Regions from separate parts of the Homo sapiens genome. Here all the other regions are linked to region 1. The links are contacts of gene promoters, found by promoter capture Hi-C in blood cells and fetal thymus (Javierre and others, 2016). All regions are on one chromosome and are shown on one strand. Each heading gives the region's core, a stretch centred on a gene start or on the middle of the fragment in contact. The rest is flanking DNA. Distances are from core to core; before and after follow the strand shown. Region 1 holds the start of PRSS36 (serine protease 36). Region 2 has its middle 54 kb from the start of ZNF267. Region 3 holds the start of ZNF267 (zinc finger protein 267). Region 4 has its middle 20 kb from the start of ZNF267. Region 5 has its middle 14 kb from the start of KRABD5.

Region 1 (4,037 bases), core at 1,105-3,604:
CATGTAGAAGGTGCTCAAGAAATATCTTGAGTGAAAGAATGATTGAATGAATGATGGTGGGTAGGAAGAAGAGAGGAGGTGGGGAGTAGAGAGATGAGTGGGGGTGGATGGAATGAGAGGAAGGCGGATGGGAGGGAGGCACAGACTGGCATTTGCTGAATATCTATTATAGGCCAGCCTTATGCTGTAGTGCTTTACTATAGATTACCTGAGGTGAAATATGTAAAGTGCATTGGTTATTGCTATGCCAGGCACTGTACTATGAACTTTACATGGATTTTCTCATTTAATCCACTCAACCACCCCTTGAAGTGGGTATGGCTATTTTCCTCGTGTTACAGATGAGGAAATGTACTGGGTGAAGTGCTTTGTCTGACATGTTAGAGCTGGGATGGGAACCCTAGTCGGAGCCTAAACCCAGGAAAGAAAAAACTGGAAGGACAGGTAAGGAGGGAATGGGGTGCGTGTGGGTGATTCCGTGGTCTTAGTTTGAGAATCCTTGCAGGGAGAAGGCTACATGGAGATCGGTGTGGGATTCATCCACCGACCCGCAGAAACCTACCCTCCAACGCTCCCCGCAGGCTCCGCTCCGTGGCCCCACCTCCTGAGGCCCCGCCCTAGGAACCTCACCTCTCGAAGCCCCACCTCCCCGAGGCCCTCCCCTCTTGTCCCGTCCCACTCACCTGCCTCCTGGACGTCTCCCCAGCCGGTGGCCCAGCAGGCGGTGCCGTGCACGAAGCGGTGTGAGGCGCGGGGCAGGCAGACAGGCCACACGGCGGGGCCCAGGCTGGCGGGTGAGGCCAGGCGCAGCAGGGCCAGGTCGGCGCCCAGCTCCACTTGGCTGTAGTTGGCCGGCACCACGATGGCGGCCACTGCGCGGGTGTGCGCGCCGTCCAGGGGCCCGTCCTGGGAGTGCACGCCCAGCAGTACCGACCACTCGGCCGCGGGCTCCAGCGTCCCATTCCTGCGCTCGACCGGGGCAGTAGGAGGTTAGGTTGACCCTATGGAGGGGGCAGACCCTCGTTGGGGGCAGGGGCTCAGAGCCAGAGGGGCAGGTGCTATCCGATCCAGATTTGGTGCTGATACTCCTCAAAGGGGAAGAGCAAATCCGATTTGGAGCTGGTGGTGGGGGGGTCATTGGAAAGATGGGATTCAGACCCGGATATTGAGTGGAGTGGTGGGACCAGTCCGGCAGCCTTGCCCCACTCGGAACCATGATGCCTCGAATAGCACCTCGCTTTGGGGACAGCTTGGCTCCAAATTATCCTTGAGGACGGAAGTGGGGCGGGAGGAGGGGACCAACTGCGGGGGCGGGGGCCAGCTTTTGGCGGAGAGGGGCCAGGACCAGGGCGAATACTCACGTCATGAAACAGTGAGCAGCGGAGAGGACCCAGGAGGGGGCGATGAGGGAGCCCCCGCAGATGTGGCCACCTCCATGGTGCAGGCTCACTTGCCAAGGCCAGGTGCCCGGCTGCGCGTTTGAGCCCCCCACGATGCGGGCCGAGGGCTCAGGGCGCCCGCAGTCTGCAACGGGGAGCCGTGGAAGCCAAAGCTCCCCTCGGGTTCCCCACTCCAGAAGCCCAGGTAACTCAGGACGAAGGCCCGTCCTCCACCCACTTCAGTTTGCCCCTCTGAACAAAGAACATAGAGGACCCAGGCTTGTCTACATTTCTGGTCTTTTCCACCTCCCTCATGGCCTGACCAGCCTTAGCCTCCTTTAAGGTCTGAGGGTGCCAAGGCCTCTTCCTTACCCAGATCTTCAGGTTCTTCCTGGGTAGGACTGAGAGCTGGGAGCCAGAGGGGAAAGAGAGGAGGACACTTGTGACTTCCAGGCCTGCACCGCCCAGCCCCACTTCCTGCTCTCCAACCCCCGACCCTATCTTCCCACTTCCCTGTCCGTTCAGCAACCCCTGCCAGCACCCATGCCAGTCCTCTGGTCTTTTCTGCCTCTGCACGTGACTTTCCCCCAGTCCGGCTACCTTACCTGAGTCCTGGAAGGCTCCTGGGATGGGACTGATGACTGGAAAGACAGAGGTAGGCAGGAAGAGGCTGGCGACTCGCACTCAGTATGTGCCCTCCCTGACTCCCTCCCCCAGCCTCCTAGCCTCCGTCTCCCCAGGGCACCCAGGCCTCCCTCTCCCTCCTCTGATACATCCTCGCCTTCTGCTGCCTCACTTCCTTCTCTCTGACTTCCTGCTCCCCACACAGAAACCAGGAATCCTGCTCTCCAGCCCCCCAGATGCCAGGACCCAGGCCCTTTGCAGCCACTCTTGTCCCCTGAGGTTACCAAGCATCACAAGGGGGAGGAGCAGGTGCCGGGCCATGGCGCTAGAGTCAGCGGAGGCAGAGCCAAGTGAAGGTCTGCTCCCTGCAGGGCTCTGTCACTGCCCAGGCAGCCCGTGACTCCTGATGGTCCCAGGGGCAGCCCCACCCTCCCTGGCTGGAGCCCATCTCTGGGAATCTGAGAGGATCTGGGGCTGGAAGGGGGAAGCTGGGGAGCCTGAAGGCCCCACCCAGAGCCCTGCGCACATCTCATGTCTCTGGAGGCCCAGGGTGGGGGTGGAGGACAGGTGTCCTAGCTCCTGGACACCTGTTGGGTGGGAGAGGGAGGGATGAAAAACACTGCAGGCAAAGGTCAAAGAGGAGGACAGTGTTCTGTGTCCTTGGTGAGCAGTGGCCCTTAGGACAGGGGAAGTGGCCCCTCACGGGCATGACTCATCGGAGACCTCACCTCTGTTTGGGGTGCGGCTGCCCCAGTGGCTTGGCCTTTTCTTCTCACACAGCTCTGGTTACTGGAGCTGCTGGCCAGGTCTGGGACAGGAGCCCTAGGGAATTCAATCCCATCCCAACAAAAGGATCACAGATTCCAGCAGGTTGGGCAGGGCATAGGGACCCTGGGAGGGGGCTGGGCAGGCTGGCGAGGCTGAAAAAGCCTCCACCCTGCTCTGTGTTCCAGTGACAATGCTCTTAGCTGCCCTGTCACTTACTCTGTGTGACTTTGGGAAAGTAACCCAACCTCTTGGTGTGTATCAGTAAGAGCCAGTTTAAGGGACATATGACTTGGCCGAGCACGGTGGCTCACTCCTGTGATCCTAACACTCTGGGAGACTGAGGTGGGAGGATTGCTTGAGGCTAGGAGTTCAAGACCAGCCTGGTCAACATAGCAAGACCCCATCTCTACAAAAAATTAAAAAATACAAAAATTATGAACTGCAGGGCGTGGTGGTGCACGTCTGTATCCCAGCTACTCGGGAGATGAGGTGGGAGGATTGCTTGAGCCTGGGAGGTCGAGGTTGCAGTGAGCTATGATTGTGCCACTGCACTCCAGCCTGGGTGACAAAGCGAGACCCTGTCTCAACAACAACAACAAAAAGAAAAAAAAAAAGAAGAATAAGAAGAAGAAAGAAACATATGGCTCTTCAAAGAGGAGTTGAAGAGAGTTTAAGGAAGAAACTATTTATAGAAGTGTAGGCAGGGTCAAAGGAAACCAAAGAGGCTGGGTGGCTCACGGCTGTAATCCCAGCACTTTGGTAGGCCGAGGCGGGCAGATCACCTGAGGTCAGGAGTTCAAGACCAGCCTGGCTAACTTGGAGAAGCCCCATCTATACTAAAAATACAAAAATTAGCCGAGTGTGGTGGAACTCACCTGTAATCCCACCTATTAGGGAGGCTGAGGCAGATAAAAATGCTTGAACCCAGGACGTGGAGGTTGCAGTGAGCCAAGATAGCGCCGTTGCACTCTAGCCTGGGTGACAAGAGCGAACTCCGTCTCACAAAAAAAAAAAAAAAAAGGAAACCAAAGAGGGATGGTAACGCATCCTGGGGCCAGCAATAATAGAGAGCCCTTGCTACCTGCTGGCCTGAAGAGGCAGAGAGGGGGCAGTTACTGGAACCCAGCAAGAGCTGCAGCTATGGAAGAGATAGCTGTTAGGAGCCGTGGCCTTCAATAGAGAAATGCAGCCTTTACCAGCAGAGAGGGAGTGGGGAAAGAAAAATCCCCATCTCACTCTCATCTCATCCTCTCTATTTTTAATTAA
Region 2 (4,037 bases), core at 522-3,021, 780 kb after region 1:
CTGCTCCTCAGCTGGTCCCCATGGCCTTGGCTCACTACCTGGCCTTCAGTGCTCAAGCAGTGGATATACACCTTTAAGTTATCTAGTGGAGGACTTGTCACACTATAGGGTCTACATCATCCTTTCCAAACTCAAAGTTTCTACTCACAGACTTTTTTGTTGACTAAGGATTCTTCTGACATCCTGAACTAATTTAAGATTGCCTGGAAAGTCTTCCAACAAATCAGTAATAAAATGTATTCCTTATATCCTATGTCATCTTGAACATAATGGAATACATGGCCCAAAAAAACTCACCAGTGTTAGCCCACCAGCGTTGTAGTACCACAAAACAAGAGAAACATGATAATATAAATAAAGAAACTGAGTGTGCTGCCTTCTATTGCATTATAACAACATCAGCAAATGACTGACACCCTCTCCCCTGATTTTCAGGCATTAAAATTAGGGTTCTGTGGGTTAATCTTATATCAATATGGAGGGCTCTTTCTTTTTGATGACATTACCATTTAAATTTGTAATCTTTGAGTAAGCAGATTGTCCTACATACTGCGGGTTAGGCCTCATCCAATCATTTGAAGGTTTAAATAAAACAAAAAAGCCAGCCTTCCTGAGCAAGAGAAATATCTCCATTAGATCGCTTTTGTACTTTATCTGCACCATTAACTATGTCAAATTTTCCTCAAAATTAAAACTGGAATTGCCCTCTCAGATCTCAGTCTTAATCTTCTCAGCCCACATTGCAGATTTGGACTTGCCAGTCTCCATAATCAAATGAGCCTGTGTGTGTACATATATATATACACACACATACATGTATATGTATATTATATACTATATTATCATACACAAACATACACACGTGTGTGCATGTGTGCATGTTATCATATAGTATATAATATGTATTATAAGTATTGAATTATACACTACATATATTAAGGTTAAATGAATTCATAAGGGAGAGCCCTTATTCTGGTAGGAATGGTATCTTTATAAGAAGAGGAAGGGACACCAGAAAGCTCTTTCTCCACACACAGAGAGGAAAGCTATATGAGAACACAGAAGGGAGCCTCCAATAAGCCAGGAAGAGACGAGTTACTGGAAACCAACCCTGCATAATAGGACCTTGATCTTGGACTTAAAGCATCCAGAATTGTAGAAAAATAATTGTATGCTGTTTAGTCCATCCAGTTTGTGGTACTTGTTATGAAAACTTGAGATAATTTATACAATATACCATTGGCTCTATTTCTCTAAAGAATCTTGGCTAATACAGATTTTGGTACTAAGAGTGGTTTTATAGGAATGACCTGGATAAATCTTATTTTTTGGTTCTGAAGTTTCTGTATTGGGCTCAATAATTTGATTAAATTCAGACACTATTAATTATTTCCAGTAGTAATAAGAGCATTGATAGTGCATGTCATGACATGGCAAAAAAGGTGCAGAATATTGCCATTGAATACCCCTAATGAAGCATTTTTAGAATCAAGAACCTGGACAACCATGCCTATAATACTTTGAAACATTTTTGTCAAAATAAAAATATATGAATATTGACTGGTTGTTTGTAATGTCCGTGGACAAAGTGGGGAAAGAAAAGAATGAGCTCAGAAAAAAAAATGTGTATGCCAAATTCCACGTTCATGACCTTAAAGCTTCTATGTCTGCCATGAAGATGCTTATCTCCAGTAACCACAAGGCCAAGATTGCTGAAAACCAAATGCAGAATCTCATCCTGTGAGTACCTGAATTACAACACAAATTAAATTACCAGACTAGTGTCATGTCAAATATCAAAATGACGACAGAAGAGAATGGGAACCTATATTCAGCATTCTTAAAGAAAATAATTTCTGACTAATAATTTTATATCCAGCCAAATTAAGCTTCATAAGTGAAGGAGAAATAAGATCCTTTTCAGGCAAGCAAATACTAATGAAATTTGTTACCACCAGACCTGCCTTACAAGAGTTCCTGAAGGGAGTGCTACATATGGAAATAAAAGACTGTTATCAGCCATTATAAAAACACATTTGAATACATAGACCAGTGACACTATAAAGCAACCACACAAACAAGTCTGCATAGTAGCCAACTAACAACATAACAGGATGAAGTCTGCACATATCAATATTAACCTTGAATGTAAGTGAGCTAAATGCCCCAATTAAAAGGCATAGAGTAACAAGTTAGACAAAGAAGCAAGACCCAATGGTATGCTGTCTTTGAGGGAAACATCTCACATGCAATGATACCTGTAGGCTCAAAGAAAAGGGATGAAGAAAAATCTACCAAGCAAACAAACAAACAAAAAGCCTGGGGTTGCTATTTAATTCCAGACAAAATAGACTTCAAACTAACAAAGATCAAAAAAGACAAAGAAGGACATTACGTAATGGCAAAGAACTCAATTAAACAAAAAGACCTAACTATCCTAAATATATATTCATGCATCACAGGAGCACCCAGGTTCATGAAGCAAATTCTTACAGACCTGTGAAGAAACTTAGATAACCACACAGTAATAGTGGGAGACTTCAACAACGAATTCAGAGTTATTAGACAGATCATTGAGGCAGAAAACTAACAAAGGTATTCAGGACCTGAACTCGACACTTGACCAAATGAACCTAATAGAGATCTACAGAACTCTCCACCCCCAAACACCAGAATACACATTCTTCTCATCTGCACATGGCACACACACTCTAAGACTGACTGCACAATTAGATATAAAATAATCCTCAGCAGATTTTTAAAAAATCATACCAACCACAGTCACAGACCAGAGAGAAAGAAAAATACAAATTAATACTAAGAAAATTGATCAAAACCATACAATTACTTGGAAATTAAACAACATGTTCCTGAATGACTTTTGGGTAAACAATGAAATTAAAGCAGAAATTATGAAATTCTTTGAAACTAATAAAGATACAACATACCAGAATCTCTGGAACACTAAAGTAGGGTTAAGAGAGAAACTTATACACTAAACACCCACATCAAAAAGTTACATCTGAAATTGACAACCTAACATCACAACTGGAGGAACTAGAGAAACAAGAACAAACCAACCCCAAAGCCAGCAGAAGACAAGAAATAACCAAAATCAGATCTGAACTGAAGGAAACTGAGATTTAAAAAAACCCATATAATAGATCAATAAATTCAGAAGTTGGTTATTCGAAAGAATTAATAAGATAGATTGACTACTAGCTAGAAGATTAAATAAAAAAGAGAAAAGGTTCAAATAAACAATCAGAAAAAAATGGGACATTACCACTGATGCTGCATAAATACAAAATACCCTAAGAGACAACTACAAACTTATGTACATAAAAGCTAGAAAACCTAGAAGAAGTAGATACATTCCTGGAAACATACAACCTCCCAAGACTGAACTGGGAAGAAAGTGAATCCCTGAACAGACCAATAATGTGTTCCAAAATTGAATCAGTAAGAAAATACCTACCCACCAAAAAAATCCCAGGACCAGATGGATTCACAGCAAAATTTTATTAGATGTGTAAAGAAGAGCTGGTACCATTCCTACTGAAATTATTTTTAAAAATTGAAGATAAAGGACTCTTCTCTAACTCATTCTGTGAGGCCAACATTATTATCATATCAAAACCTGGCAGAGATACAGCAAAGAAAGAAAACTTCAGGCCAATATTCCTGATGAACATAGATAGAAATATCTTCAACAAAATACTAATAAACAGAATTTAGCAGCACATCAAAAAGCTAATTCACCATGATCGAGTAGGCTTCATCCTTGGGATGCAAGGTTGGTTCAGCATACACAAATCAAAAAAAGTGATTCACCACATAAACAGAACCCAAACCAAAAACTACATGATCATCTCAGTAGATGCAGAAAAAAACTTTTGAAAGGATTCAACGCTCCTTAATGTTAAAAACTCTAAACAAACTAGGCATTGAAGAAACATACCACTAAATAATAAAACTCTTCTATGAAAAACTCACAGCCAACATCATCCTAAATGAGTGAAAGCTAGAGGCATTCC
Region 3 (4,037 bases), core at 896-3,395, 720 kb after region 1:
CTGACTTTAAGACGTACTCAGCTGTTTGGCTAAATTGTGGCAGAAAAAAATGTCTTCTCAGCAGATATACCTTTGTATCTCTTGCTTTCAGAGTAAAAGATTGTTTCAGTCACAGTAGTTTGAGTTAATCTGTATTGAAAATCATCAACAGCTTACAAATACTGAAAGGGGACAAAAATAATTTGCAGACACATTGAGTCCATTATAAGTGCTTTCAAATCTCTCCTATAAGAAATGAAAAATAGAATGTTAGGCCTTGATTTCTTAAACTCAGCCTTCAGCCATTTTCCCAAATTATTCTACATGTTTCCAAGACATTTCAGAAGCATTCTCTGGTGGGGATTATTTCCAATTGTGAAGAGTACTAGAAGGATGAGAATCAAAAGGAATCTTTCTTCTATCGCAAAAGAGTCAATCTCCAGGATTTCAAAGGCCTAGGGAAGCTGCTTGAGTTGTGAGGTCCATGGAGGTGCATGGGCTTTGGAGTCAGGCAGAGTTGATCCTGAGTTCCAGCCCAGCCCCTTAGTAGGCCCTAAGGACTCCCGTGGTGCTGTCACAAGCAGTGCTGCCTTTGGGAGCCCCTAACCTCCTGTCTTTTCTCCCTTCAGTGTGGGAAAGGGGTTTGGTCAGCCAGTGGTGTCAGCAGCCCTGTCCCACACCCGTTGTCTACACCTAATCTGGTGGCAGGGAGGCCACAGAGTGCAGCGACTAGAACTGGGTGAGAGGGTGAGAGGCAGCCATGCCCCAGGCCAAGACAAGTGCATGGAATCCTGACTGTCAGCAATCAGGGATGTTTCTGCTTTGGGGAGGGAAGCATTTGTTCCACACGTCTCACTGAATAAGGCACAGAGCCTGATCTGTCCCAAGTGGGAGTTTAACCAAGCTAGATGGCGGCCGAGGGCCCTGGCCCAGTTTGACACCCACCTCCTCTCCCACCTTCTACTCAGCCAGAAGACTAGGAGAATCTACTCAGCCGGAAGACTACGAGGTGCTGCAGCGCCACTAGCTCCAAGACTCCAGAAAAACAGGAATAGGGCATTCTGGCAGGTCAAAGCAGACAGAATACTTGAGCTCAGGAGTTGGCGAACTGACTATTAACCTGTAGCCCCAGTTACTTGGGAGGCTAAGGTGGGAGGATCGCTTGAGCTCAGGAGATGGAGACCAGCCTGGGCAACATGGTGAAACCTCATCTCTACAAAAAATACAAAAATCAGCCGGGCATGGTGGCATGTGCCTGTAGTCCCAGCTACTCAGGAGGCTGAGGTGGGAAGATTGCTTGAGCCCCGGAGGCTGCAGTGAGCCATGACTGCACCACTGCACCAGCCTGGGCAATAGAGTGAGACCCTGTCTCAAAACAAAAGCAAAAACCAGAGGTAGGGCTGAGGAGTCCGTGGCCACAGAGCCTGAGCCAGCACGGCCCAGAGGAACTGAGCTCCCAGCCCTGTCGCTGCCAAGGACCCTTCTTCCCTGAGCTTGAAGGGATTGAGAAGGAGAGACAGACGGACAGTCAGCGGCCCCGTTACCAGTGATGCAGACTCCAGGAGATGCGGGCAGAGTTGTAGATTAGAAGAATAGGCCAGCCCCTCTTCCACGTTCCACCACGGCCCGCAACATCCTCCTGGGACCCCAGCCTGCATGCCCCTATAAGATGCTTTTGCACTGGTTCAGTCTATGTATCATGCGAGGGCCTAATTGAAAACACGTGAATGAAGTGTACGGCCTTCTGTTCCCAGCTGAGGGGCCCCCTCCCACGGTGGCGTTAGCAGTGGGGTACAGTGCGGTAAGAGAGGTGCTAAGGGACGGGATGAGGGTCTTTCTTGCTTTAAAGGTGTCTAAATATACTTCTTCTTAAACTTAATTAGCTAATAAGATGTCTTATACAAGCAGAACCAGGTAAGGGAAAGAGCAAGTGTATTTCAAGTCGCAGCTCACCCCTTAATTAGCTGTAATACCCGCAGCAGGCGGCCCCACCTCAATGAGCCAGTCTCCCTTTCAAAAAAAAAAAAAAAAAAGGCACTAATAATGAGGGGGCGGGGCATGGAGCTTTATCCAATCAGGGGCGCTGGAGTGGAAACCGTCCAATCAGGAGTGAAGCCGGAGAGCAGGGGCGGCTTCCGGGATTTGGCGGGGGCCTTCGTCGGCTCCAGTTAGAGCTCGGGTCTCCTCGCCACAGCTCCGAGTCTTTCGTTCTGGGAGGCCCAGGCGGCTTCGCGTTCTGAGAATAAACAGAACCTCTGTTGCTCTGCGACTTGCAGGCACTGGGAGATTCGTAGCTAAGACGCCAGGGCATCCCGGAAGCTGGGAAATGGTGAGTGTGCGGGGTCGGGGGTCCCCAGAGGGAGGGAGGGCGGTGGTCGGAAGCGGCGGGAACCCGCTGTAGGGGCACCCGGGCCTCCCCGCAGTCAGCCTCGGGGTCTGGGCCCCGAGTCCCAACTGGTGCAGCTCGGCCCTCGGTCCCCTCCGCTGCAAGATGGCGGCCAGGCCGGCAGCCGGGACCCCGCGTGTCCTGTCCCATCCCGACCCCGCAGAGCGACCTCGTCCCTGGCCGGAGCCCTCTCTGGGCAGCTCCGCGTCGCAGCCCCGCGTCTCCCCCAGATTGTGCGGTGAGGACGGGAGCGTCTCAGGGGAGACCCAGGTTCGGTGTGTGGGAAGAAACCGTGCCCTGTGGGGTCCTCAGTCACTACTCCTCTTAAGAATTAAAGGGAGTCACTGTTAAAACGTTGAAGAATTTGAGCAAATAGCGATTTGTGACATGGGAAGCCTGCAGTCCTGGTTTGTGGTTCGGAGATCCCCAGAGGGGCTTGAAGGAAAGGTTTTTATAAGGTGCATGAGGAAGCAGACCAAATTAACCGATGGGTTACAGTTTGTAGTTGCCTTATTTAGACTATGCAGGTGGAGGTGAATTGGAGCTTTGTGGTTCGTTAAGTCTGAATTTTGTTTTCCCCTAAAGTTGTAATTTACAAGAAAAGCATTTGAGTTTGGTTTTGGTTTTTCTCCCTAGAAACCTGGGGCACTATAACCACTTCCGTATAATCGCCTGCTCATTAATCATCTTAACACTGCCCAGGGGAACTGGTTTTCCCCCTGCGCTTTCCTAACGTGTAGCACGCAGAGTCTCAAGTCCACCACTGTGTTCCCCCAGTCTAACTGGGCTTGCAATAAAATATTAAATTTCCAGTTCCTTCCCGACATTTCCAAAGGCCAACTTCCCCTCTCCAGTTCACATTCTTAACTATTGGTCATTTATTGTACATTTCAGACAGTATTTTACTCATTAATCATGATTTCACAGAGCAGTGGATGACACTTTTTTAAAGATTTGTGTTTTTTTGGCATACATTTCACGTGAGAGGAAAGCAGAGAATAAAAAATCCCTGACACTCCACTGCAAAAAAAACTGTGCCTCTTTTTCATTCATCTTCCCCAGGCACAGACACGTTATCGGAAAGAATGTCTTTTGACTTGAGGTTTTGCTTTGGAAACTTTACAGGGCCCTGTATAGCCACCCTCTATCCAGTCTTTTCCTGTTCCTGAATTTCAGAACTGTCTGGGATGACTCAAGATGCCCACAGTGGCCATGTCTCCTGGAGTGTTTAGTGACTGTCAGCCCCAGGTCACCTCCTGTTAGAGGACCGCCCAAGGTATGGAAATGTAGTCCCTCAGGGGAGCAGCTGGATGCCCTGGGGCTGAGAGAAATCTCCTGGGACACCCTTAACCTAAAAAGATAACCCCTTGGGACATAAGGATTTTATTTCTTCAAAGCTAGTTTTCATCCCTTGGAGACACATTGCTGGTCAGCCAATCGTTTGCTGGTATTGAGGGGAAACAGTCACAAATGATTCCTGCCCCCTAGATTCATTCAGATTTGTGAAGGGAGAAAAACTCCCAAAGGACCAAAAAACAAAAACCCCACCCCAGTGAGGTGGTGCAAACTCGGCTGCGGTGTCCATGGGGCACAGTGCAGGATCTGGGAGGATGGTCCCTGAGCATTTTAATGAGCAGTATTGGGGTAGGAGAATGTCTCAAATGATACCGTG
Region 4 (4,037 bases), core at 1,066-3,565, 700 kb after region 1:
CAAGACCAAAGTCTCTACAGTAAAAATAAAAAACCTAAAGCAAACAATAACAATTAAAACAGGATATCAAAATGTAAATGGCTGGTTAAAATAAATTAAATATTTCATCTGCATCTAAATAAAAGTGACCGTTAAACACGTGTGCATGGTAGGCTAGAGGCCCAGGTTGTCCCCTTTCCACTCAAATAGTCCTCTAATCAACAAAACATGGACTACATGGTAGCTCCTTTTCAAAATCCTACAGCCTGAGATAATAAACTGTGTCAAACGCTCTCGCTACTATTTCCTAAAATGCAGTACCCTGCGGGTCAGCCCCCGAGGGCCATCTAGCCTCCATCTTCCAAGACCAATTTTACCTGGTGTCTCCAACAACAAGGGAAAAATTTAGTGTTCCTTGAAAACTTAATGCAGTGAAGTCAGGCACTTCCAAGAGCTGACCCATCAATCCCCCCTTATTCATCACCAAACAGGTATGTAATAATATTGTAGAAGACCTTTACTGAACACTCTGCCAAATAATTAAAGCAATATTTGTGCTCTAGTTCAATTGGCTATCCCTTTTACCGTGGCATTTCACCAACCAGAAAAACTTTTTCTTTTAAAAACTCAAGCAAAACAGCTAAACCAAAACATGTTAAAAAATTTTAAAGAAAAAAAGCTATAAAATCAAAAGGAAGGAATTGCAGAAAGTAAAAAGTTTCCTCTTCAAAGTTTCCATTCTTGTTACAGGATAAATAAGTGTTAGAAATAATAGTTTCTTTTAAAGACTAATTTCTTTCAAGCCTCCTTACTTTGTGCTAATAACTCTTTGTTTAAGCCCTATCCTATGTAGCTGTTAAACATGCTCACAGGCACATAGTACATTCTATGTCCTTGTGCCTTAACGGAAATACCTGTCCTGGATGTGCTCACAGGCATGTCCCAGCTCACAGCCTGTCACTTCCTTATTTAGGAATGTTATTACTTTTCTAAGTCCTTTCATAAACAACTTCCTCTTTTCATTTATCTTTCCATTGCTTTTACCTGTTTAAAAAATTTTAAGTTATTAGCCAATCAGGTTTTAATTTAAATTATGAAGTCTGTCTCCAGCCAATAAAAACAGGACACAAGAGCAGGGACAAGCTACATAAAAAATAAAAATTGCTTCCCTCCCTTGTTCAAATGTGCTCTTGCCATTGTTCCATCTGCAAGGAGCACCCTTTCTGCAGAAAGTAAAATTTCCTTGCTAAAAAAACCTTTTTGTCTAAATGCTAATTTTTCCTTACATGACCGAAAAACAAGCATTCTGTTTCTAAATAAACGTCTTACCTATAACATATACCATTACAAAATTACAAATATCCTTTCGAACATCTGTAAATTTATGTGCTCATGATATTAAAATTTATATTTTTATCTGAAAATAGTTATAATTCAGTGAGACACAAGAACAAAATTATGAGAGAGTTATCTACATCATTGAGAAAATCCTCCTGCCACTACCAACGTAAGTCGTGATCACTCACTTTTACTAAAGCTGAGAAACATCCATTTGCCCAGCGGAGTCCTGGAGTGAGTCTGTGTGTGTGGATGGTGGTCCCTGAGACTTGGTTATAAAGAAGGGATACTGTCAGCTCGTCTCCCTCCAGGCCCATAACTGTCATGTCACCTGTAGAAGCAGGACAGCCCTGGCCTCGAGATTATTGGAAAGGGGAGCAACAAAAGGAAAAACTGAACACATTTAATTCCTGGAAAAGATCAGTGTAGGACAGATGGGTTTCAAACTTTAACGTGTGCAAGCTTGTTTTCTTAGGTAATTTTGCCCAGGAGGGTTGTCTGGTCTCAGTTATTGCCAATAAAGTAGAAGCAATAACTATAGTTTCAAACTTTGTTTAATTTCTGTGTTGCTTTACCAAACATCCTTGCTAACTGAAGAAATTTCTGGGGGCCTTCACACATGGTCCCCAGTTGTCCCTACGTTTCAATATTACAGGTAGTCTATGTAAAACTTTTTTGGGAATGAAGAAAATGCCCCCTGCACCAGGCTTACATAGCGCTTACAGTGAAGTTGTTTCTACTTACAGGGATGTTTAACTACACAGTCAGCATGAGAGCATGTGGAATAAAATGATTAACACATTCTTAGCAACTGACAACTTTTATTTGCTTCTGAGACACCACCAACCACACCTATGTTATAACTAGTGCTAACTTTAACCTTGATCATGATTGCCACATTTGGAGTTACACTTTCTTAATCAAACATCATCTGATACTGAAGTGGTGACTTCTCATGCACTTAATCTATAGATTTTCCCCCAAGGCACCAGTTCTGAATATGTTTGAGTTCATGCTGGTGTACCTCTCATGTGCCATATCTGAGGCTCTAACAAATAAACTCTCCAGGCCGGGCACGGTGGCTCATGCCTGCAATCCCAGCCCTTTGGGAGGCCAAGGCAGGCGGATCACTTCAGGTCAGGAGTTTGAGACCAGCTGGCCAATACGGTGAAACCCCGTCTCTACTAAAAACACGGAAATTAGCCAGGCATCATGGCAGGCACCTGGAATCCCAGCTATTCAGGAAGCTGAGGCAGAAGAATCACTCAAACCCAGGAGGCAGAGGTTGCAGTGAGCTGAGATCGGGCCACTGCACTCTAGGCTGGGCAACAGAGCGAGATTCTGTCTCAAAAATTAAAATAAAATAAAATACAAAATAAACTTTCCATTCAGCTGCAGTCAGGACCACTTGATCCCCAGACTTCTACTGTCTTCAGTGACAATTCTCCCTGTCATCTTAAACCCAGCTGCCATCACTATGACGTTGGTGCTCAATCCAGTCAGTGTCCTTAGGTCTTGATTTATTTTCCTTCTCTGAAGCTTTTCAATTACTTCTTTATAAATTATTTTGTCTGATGCTCACAGAAAAAGCCTGCCTAATAAGAACCCTATACCCACAAAAACTAGCTATTAAAAATGAAGGTTAAATAAAAACATTTTATGTAAATAAAAACTGATACAATTTGTTGCTAGCCAACTGACCTTATGAAAAAATGGCAAAAGAAGTTTTTCAGGCTGAAAGCAAGTAAATCCAGACAATAATTTGAATGCATAAGAAAGACAAAGCACACACTAGCAAAACTAATTACATAATTATAAGACAGTGTAAGTGAATTTATTTATTTATTTATTTATTTGCACATGAATAAATTCTTTAGTGGCGATTTCTGAGATTTTGGTGCACCCATCTCCCAGGGGCCTAATAACAGCTCCAGAAGGCCTGCCATCACTGGTGCCCTAGCATGAGCTCCAGAGGTCTGGGACTTCCCCTGCCCTGCCCACAGCCTATGCTCATGTGCATCACTAGGAGGACTTGAGAACAGGCCCACCTCACCTGCCTCTCTCCCACCCTTAGTGGTCAAATATTCCACTTGTGGACCTGAGGACAGCATTGTACAGGTGGTAGCCTCTGGCATGAGTCCACCAGGGTCCTAAAAACAGGCCAAGAAAATGTGCAGCCAGCACTCAAGCATGCTGTCTAAAGGTCTAGGAATCTCCCATGCCATCCACCACTGCTGTCATCTGGGTACTCTTGGGGTCCTAAGGATGGGCCCACCCAGACAACCACCAGCATCCACACTCATGTGTCACCTAAGGCTCTAGGGACTGTCTGATTCAGCCCATTGCAGCCACCACAAACACTGTGAGTGCTGCCTGGAAGCCTGAAGTTGCCTCAACCCCACTACTCTCCTCATCCACACGGTACACACTGCTCAGAGGCCTGAGGACTTGCCCCATTTCCTAGCCCACTGCTGTTACTACAGACATCAGAGCAAGCCTCCTGAAGGCCTGAGAATCAACAGGCTTAGGCACACTAACACCAGTGCCCACATACACTACCCAGCAGCCCAAGGACAGACACCCTCAACCCTTTACTGCTGCCACTGTCACCATGGGGGCTGAAGGACTGGCCTATCTGGTGTTCCATTCCTACCAAAACCTCACCACAGCCTCAACTAGCAAACACAGCCTAAGCAAGGTTATACCTCATAATGAAGGAG
Region 5 (4,037 bases), core at 968-3,467, 550 kb after region 1:
TTATTATGGTTTTTTCTTCTCCCTGCAACAAGCGTTAAGGATCATTATGTTTGTTATGTTGTTAAAGTCCTGGAACATAGAGATAAGAGGTAAGTGAGCATCCCCTGGTGGAGAAAGGGAGTCTTTTCCCAGAATCAGTGTTTTCCCTCGCCTTGTGTCCATTGGCAATCACTCAACACAAACTGGTGGCCATTCGGTACAATCAAACAAGCAAGCAAACAAAATCATCAATATGCTTGTGCAGCTACACTTGATAATTTATGTACAGTAAAGGAATAAGGAAGGAGAAAGTGAAGAATAGAGAAGGGGATACTGGACCAATCAGACGTGGTGGAACCATATTGCAGTTTTCCACATGAGAATGTCTGTAGGAACAGAGTTCTGGGGTAAAGCCGTGAGTGTGTTCTCAGTAGACACTCCAGTCTGCTTCTGGAACACATCAACTGAATCTTTGTCCTCTGTTTCCAGTTCTGCAGATGTGTCTGTTTCACTGATTGGCCCCAGTCAAAGTGGAATCTGATCTGTGTCATGGACAAACTCTGCCTTTCACCAAAGGCTTCCACTCATTCACTAAGTGGTGTGTGCCTCTTCACCATCAACTGCACCCCGGGACCATCCTACCTGCCACTTTCAAATTCACAGGATTCTGCTCTCGGCCTTGACTCAGGCTCTTTCTCTGCCATAGCAGAGCCTGAAGGCTCTTCAGCTGCAGCTTCACCAAAGAGGTCCAGAGTGTGCACCAAACTAGTGAGCCAGCAGCTCCCGATGCCACAAGTGGAGGAGGCAGCAGAGCCTTACCCGGTGTTTTTATCACCATCCCTGCAGCAACAGCAGCAGCAGCAGCAACAACAATCACAACCACTATTTCTAATTGTGGTAATAATAATGATCACACTTAGAATAATGATGAATAACAATAATTGTAATTGCTGACATATTCAGTTTATATGTAGATTTATTATTTGTAATGTTTTAAAATTTACATTTAGTAATATAGACATTAATTGTGTCATAAATGTCAGGACCCCAAAACACCCCACCTAATGAATGACTCTCATCTATGGACCTATGGCTGCCCACCTGCTAGTGCGGGTGCTCTCACCACTCCACCCCCAGAGCTTCGATCTGTCTGGTCAACCTTCTAGGATGATGAAGTAGCTGAAGCACTCTTATGATCTGATTGAGGTCTTGGCAAACAGCTTGACTTGTTAGAAATCGAAGGCTGACTTTAAGACGTACTCAGCTGTTTGGCTAAATTGAGGCAGGAGGAAATGTCTTCTCGGCAGATCTACCTTTGTGTCTCTTGCTTTCAGAGTAAAACGTTGTTTCGGGAACAGTAGTTTAATTTAGTCTGTGTTAAAAATCATAATCAGACTACAAATAACGCACGGGGATGAAAATAATTTGCACACATGTTCGTGCATTATATGTGTTTTCAGATCTCTCCTATGGTAAGAAATGAAAAAGTTATGCCTTGATTTTTTAAACTCAGCCATCAGCCATTTTCCCAAGTTAATCTAAATGTTTGCAAGACATTTCAGAAGCATTCTCTGGTGGGGATTACTCCTAATTGTGAATAATCCTACTAGAAGGATGAGCATCTCAAAAGAACCTTTATTCTATTGCAGAAGAGTCAGTCTTCAGGATCTCAAAGGCCTAGGGAAGCTGCTTGAGTTGTGAGGTCTATGGAGGTACATGGGCTTTGGAGTCAGGCAAAGTTGATCCAGAGTCCCAGTCCAGCCACTTAGTAGCTGTAGTGCTTTGGACATGTTCCTTGACTTGGAACAGTTATATAAACCTTGCTGTAAGAAAAGGCAGAATGATACTGACTGCAAAATGGCTCTGGTGTCCATGCCCTTTGGAATATGCTTTTACAGCTGCTCCAACATAGAGGCAGAATCTGTTTCCTGACGCTTGGATCTGGGCTGGCCTTATTTGCTCTGGGCAATAGAAAGCTATCAATATGGCAATGTGACAGTTTGGGGTCTAGGGACATAAGGCCTTGAATGCTTCTGCTTTTTCTTTTAGAACCCTGCCATCTCCATGAGAACAAGCACATGTTAGCCTGCTGGAGGATGAGATCCCACTGGGGAGGAAAACCAAGGTGCCCCAGCTGACACCCAGAAGCAGAGCCACTTAGTCAACCAGCAGCTGACCACACACGCCTGAAGGAGCCCAGCTGAGACCAGAAGAATGGCCCAGTTGAGTCCAGCCTAAATGACTGACCATCCCAATCATGAGCTAATAAGGTTTAGGGTGGTTTTTAATGCAGCAATAGCTAACTGATACATACACCTGCAGTCAGGTTGCCAGGATTCAAATGACAGGTTGGTCACTACTTGTTGTTACCTGGCAAACAGAAGGCACTGTATAAGGTATTGATTTGCTTTTCCCTTTATTTAAAGTGGGGCCTCTTGTTGGATAGGGATAAATTATACAGAAATGCATGTTGACATGCTTGGTGCTTAAACTCACACAGTCCCCACACCATAGGAGGAAACAGCCCGCCATAGCCTAACCATCAGGGCCAAGGGCAAATTGCAAAATAAAAAAAATTTGCTTTTATTCCCTCCACATCCAAACTTTGGAGGTCAAGGCTGTAGACAGATCTGAAGTCAGGGGTTTCCTCCTGAAGCCTGACACTCTTCATTCACTGTCTGACCTTTGGAAGGCTGAGGGAGCCCTGCCCAGAAGCAGGTGGGCAGCAGTGGTCGACCTGTGGACACCTCCTGACTGCAGCCCTGGCTCTCTCACTGGGCACTGCCTCTCCCACCCTTGGGCATGAGGAAAGAGATGGGCAGGATGAGGGTGTTCGCTCTCGTCTGGCAGGAAAGGGGGTCCAGGCCCTCGATTTCCCTGAGGTTAGACGCGCAAGTGCCCTCAGATCTGCTCTTCAATGCGGAAGCCACTGCCCACGTGGGGCTGCTGAGCTCTTTGGATAGAGCTGGTTGGAACTGAGATGTGCTAGAAGTTTAAATACAGAGTGACTTTACAAGATTTAGTACCCCAAACTTAAGAAGCATTCTCTGGTGGTCTTCATTAATAATTTCATATTGCTCACATATTTGAGTGATAATATTTTGGATATATCGGGTTAAGGTATTACCATCAATTTTACCTGTTTTCCTTTCATGATGCCACTAGGCTACTGTAAATGACACATGCGGCTCAATTTTATTCCTATTGGACATTTCTGACTTAGAGGACTCCCTCCATTTTCAAATCTCATGCTGCCTCCACAAGGGACCAGAGGCCATGAAGGTTATGAAATCTGAAATTTTAAAAGAATCGTTATTATATAATTTTCAATTTTACATATTACCTATATTACTCATAAATTGATATAATCTTATGAGCAAAGTTAAATACCAATGTCCGGAGCAGCCCCAGGTCCCAGCACAGGGAGTCAGCCCTGCCTGAAAAGGGCTGCAGACAATCATTCATTCAGGCCTCATTCAGCCACACCTGTGATCGCATCTCCTGTCACTCGGGGGTAAGGGGGCGGGACCTGGAGCCCTATCCATTCAGCGGCGCCGTTGTCGAGCCTGTCCAATCAGGCGCGCAGCCGAAAAAGGGGGCGCACTTCCTGTGTTCTGGGCTGGCCTTTTCCTCTCCCAGGTGCGCTTCCCTGCTTGATCTGTGTACCCTGCTCTTTCTCCTTCATTCCGCAGCCTCCTTTGCCCTGTGACCTGCAGGTACTGGACGGTCCCTAGAGAGGATACCGGGACGCTCCTGAAGCCGCGAGATGGTGAGTCTGCGGGGCTGAGCTTCCCGAGACGCGGCAGGGGTCGGCTGGGAACCGGGCCTGCCCCTGGCGGCTCCGGGGTCGGGGCCCGGAGTCTCCTCGGTCACACGGTGCGGCTCGGCCGGCAGCTGGGACCCCGGGCGCCTCGTCCCGTCCCTGCGCGACGACCTTGGTCCTGCCTTGAGCCCTCTCTGGGCAGTTTCGCGCCCGCAGCCCCGTGTCTCCCCGCGTTGTGCGGTGATGACGGGAGGGGCCGTAGGGGAGAACCCCGGCTCGGGGTTCGGGCGTGGGA

Evidence for each region. Contacts are between HindIII fragments. The CHiCAGO score rates a contact against its expected background, and 5 or more counts as called.
Region 2: a fragment that was not itself captured here is called in contact with the fragment with the promoter of PRSS36 in region 1 in 1 of 17 cell types (naive CD4 T cells); the score reaches 5.6 in naive CD4 T cells.
Region 3: a contact is called between the fragment with the promoter of ZNF267 here and the fragment with the promoter of PRSS36 in region 1, in 17 of 17 cell types (naive CD8 T cells, activated CD4 T cells, non-activated CD4 T cells and 14 more). The highest score is 34.9, in naive CD8 T cells.
Region 4: a fragment that was not itself captured here is called in contact with the fragment with the promoter of PRSS36 in region 1 in 10 of 17 cell types (activated CD4 T cells, endothelial precursors, total CD4 T cells and 7 more); the score reaches 9.3 in activated CD4 T cells.
Region 5: a fragment that was not itself captured here is called in contact with the fragment with the promoter of PRSS36 in region 1 in 3 of 17 cell types (activated CD4 T cells, fetal thymus and endothelial precursors); the score reaches 7.0 in activated CD4 T cells.

Annotation. Positions count from the first base shown.
Region 1 is chr16:31,147,712-31,151,748 of GRCh38, forward strand. It overlaps PRSS36 (serine protease 36), which reads right to left and starts at 2,355. Exons shown (of 15, transcript NM_173502.5): 1 at 2,288-2,355; 2 at 1,985-2,020; 3 at 1,752-1,787; 4 at 1,362-1,524; 5 at 684-964. The coding sequence starts at 2,324. RefSeq lists enhancers at 989-1,526, 1,527-2,062, 2,063-2,599. The HindIII fragment of the contact is 9,446 bases long and covers 1-4,037 here.
Region 2 is chr16:31,926,023-31,930,059 of GRCh38, forward strand. No RefSeq gene overlaps it. Among named protein-coding and RNA genes, the nearest start is that of ZNF267, 54 kb to the left of the region's middle. The HindIII fragment of the contact is 231 bases long and covers 1,657-1,887 here.
Region 3 is chr16:31,871,662-31,875,698 of GRCh38, forward strand. It overlaps ZNF267 (zinc finger protein 267), which reads left to right and starts at 2,146. Exons shown (of 4, transcript NM_003414.6): 1 at 2,146-2,308. The coding sequence starts at 2,306. RefSeq lists an enhancer at 1,967-2,261 and silencers at 2,148-2,197, 2,348-2,427. The HindIII fragment of the contact is 12,710 bases long and covers 1-4,037 here.
Region 4 is chr16:31,851,344-31,855,380 of GRCh38, forward strand. No RefSeq gene overlaps it. Among named protein-coding and RNA genes, the nearest start is that of ZNF267, 20 kb to the right of the region's middle. The HindIII fragment of the contact is 1,077 bases long and covers 1,778-2,854 here.
Region 5 is chr16:31,696,991-31,701,027 of GRCh38, forward strand. It overlaps the pseudogene CLUHP3. Among named protein-coding and RNA genes, the nearest start is that of KRABD5, 14 kb to the right of the region's middle. RefSeq lists silencers at 3,427-3,566, 3,827-3,976. The HindIII fragment of the contact is 5,761 bases long and covers 1-4,037 here.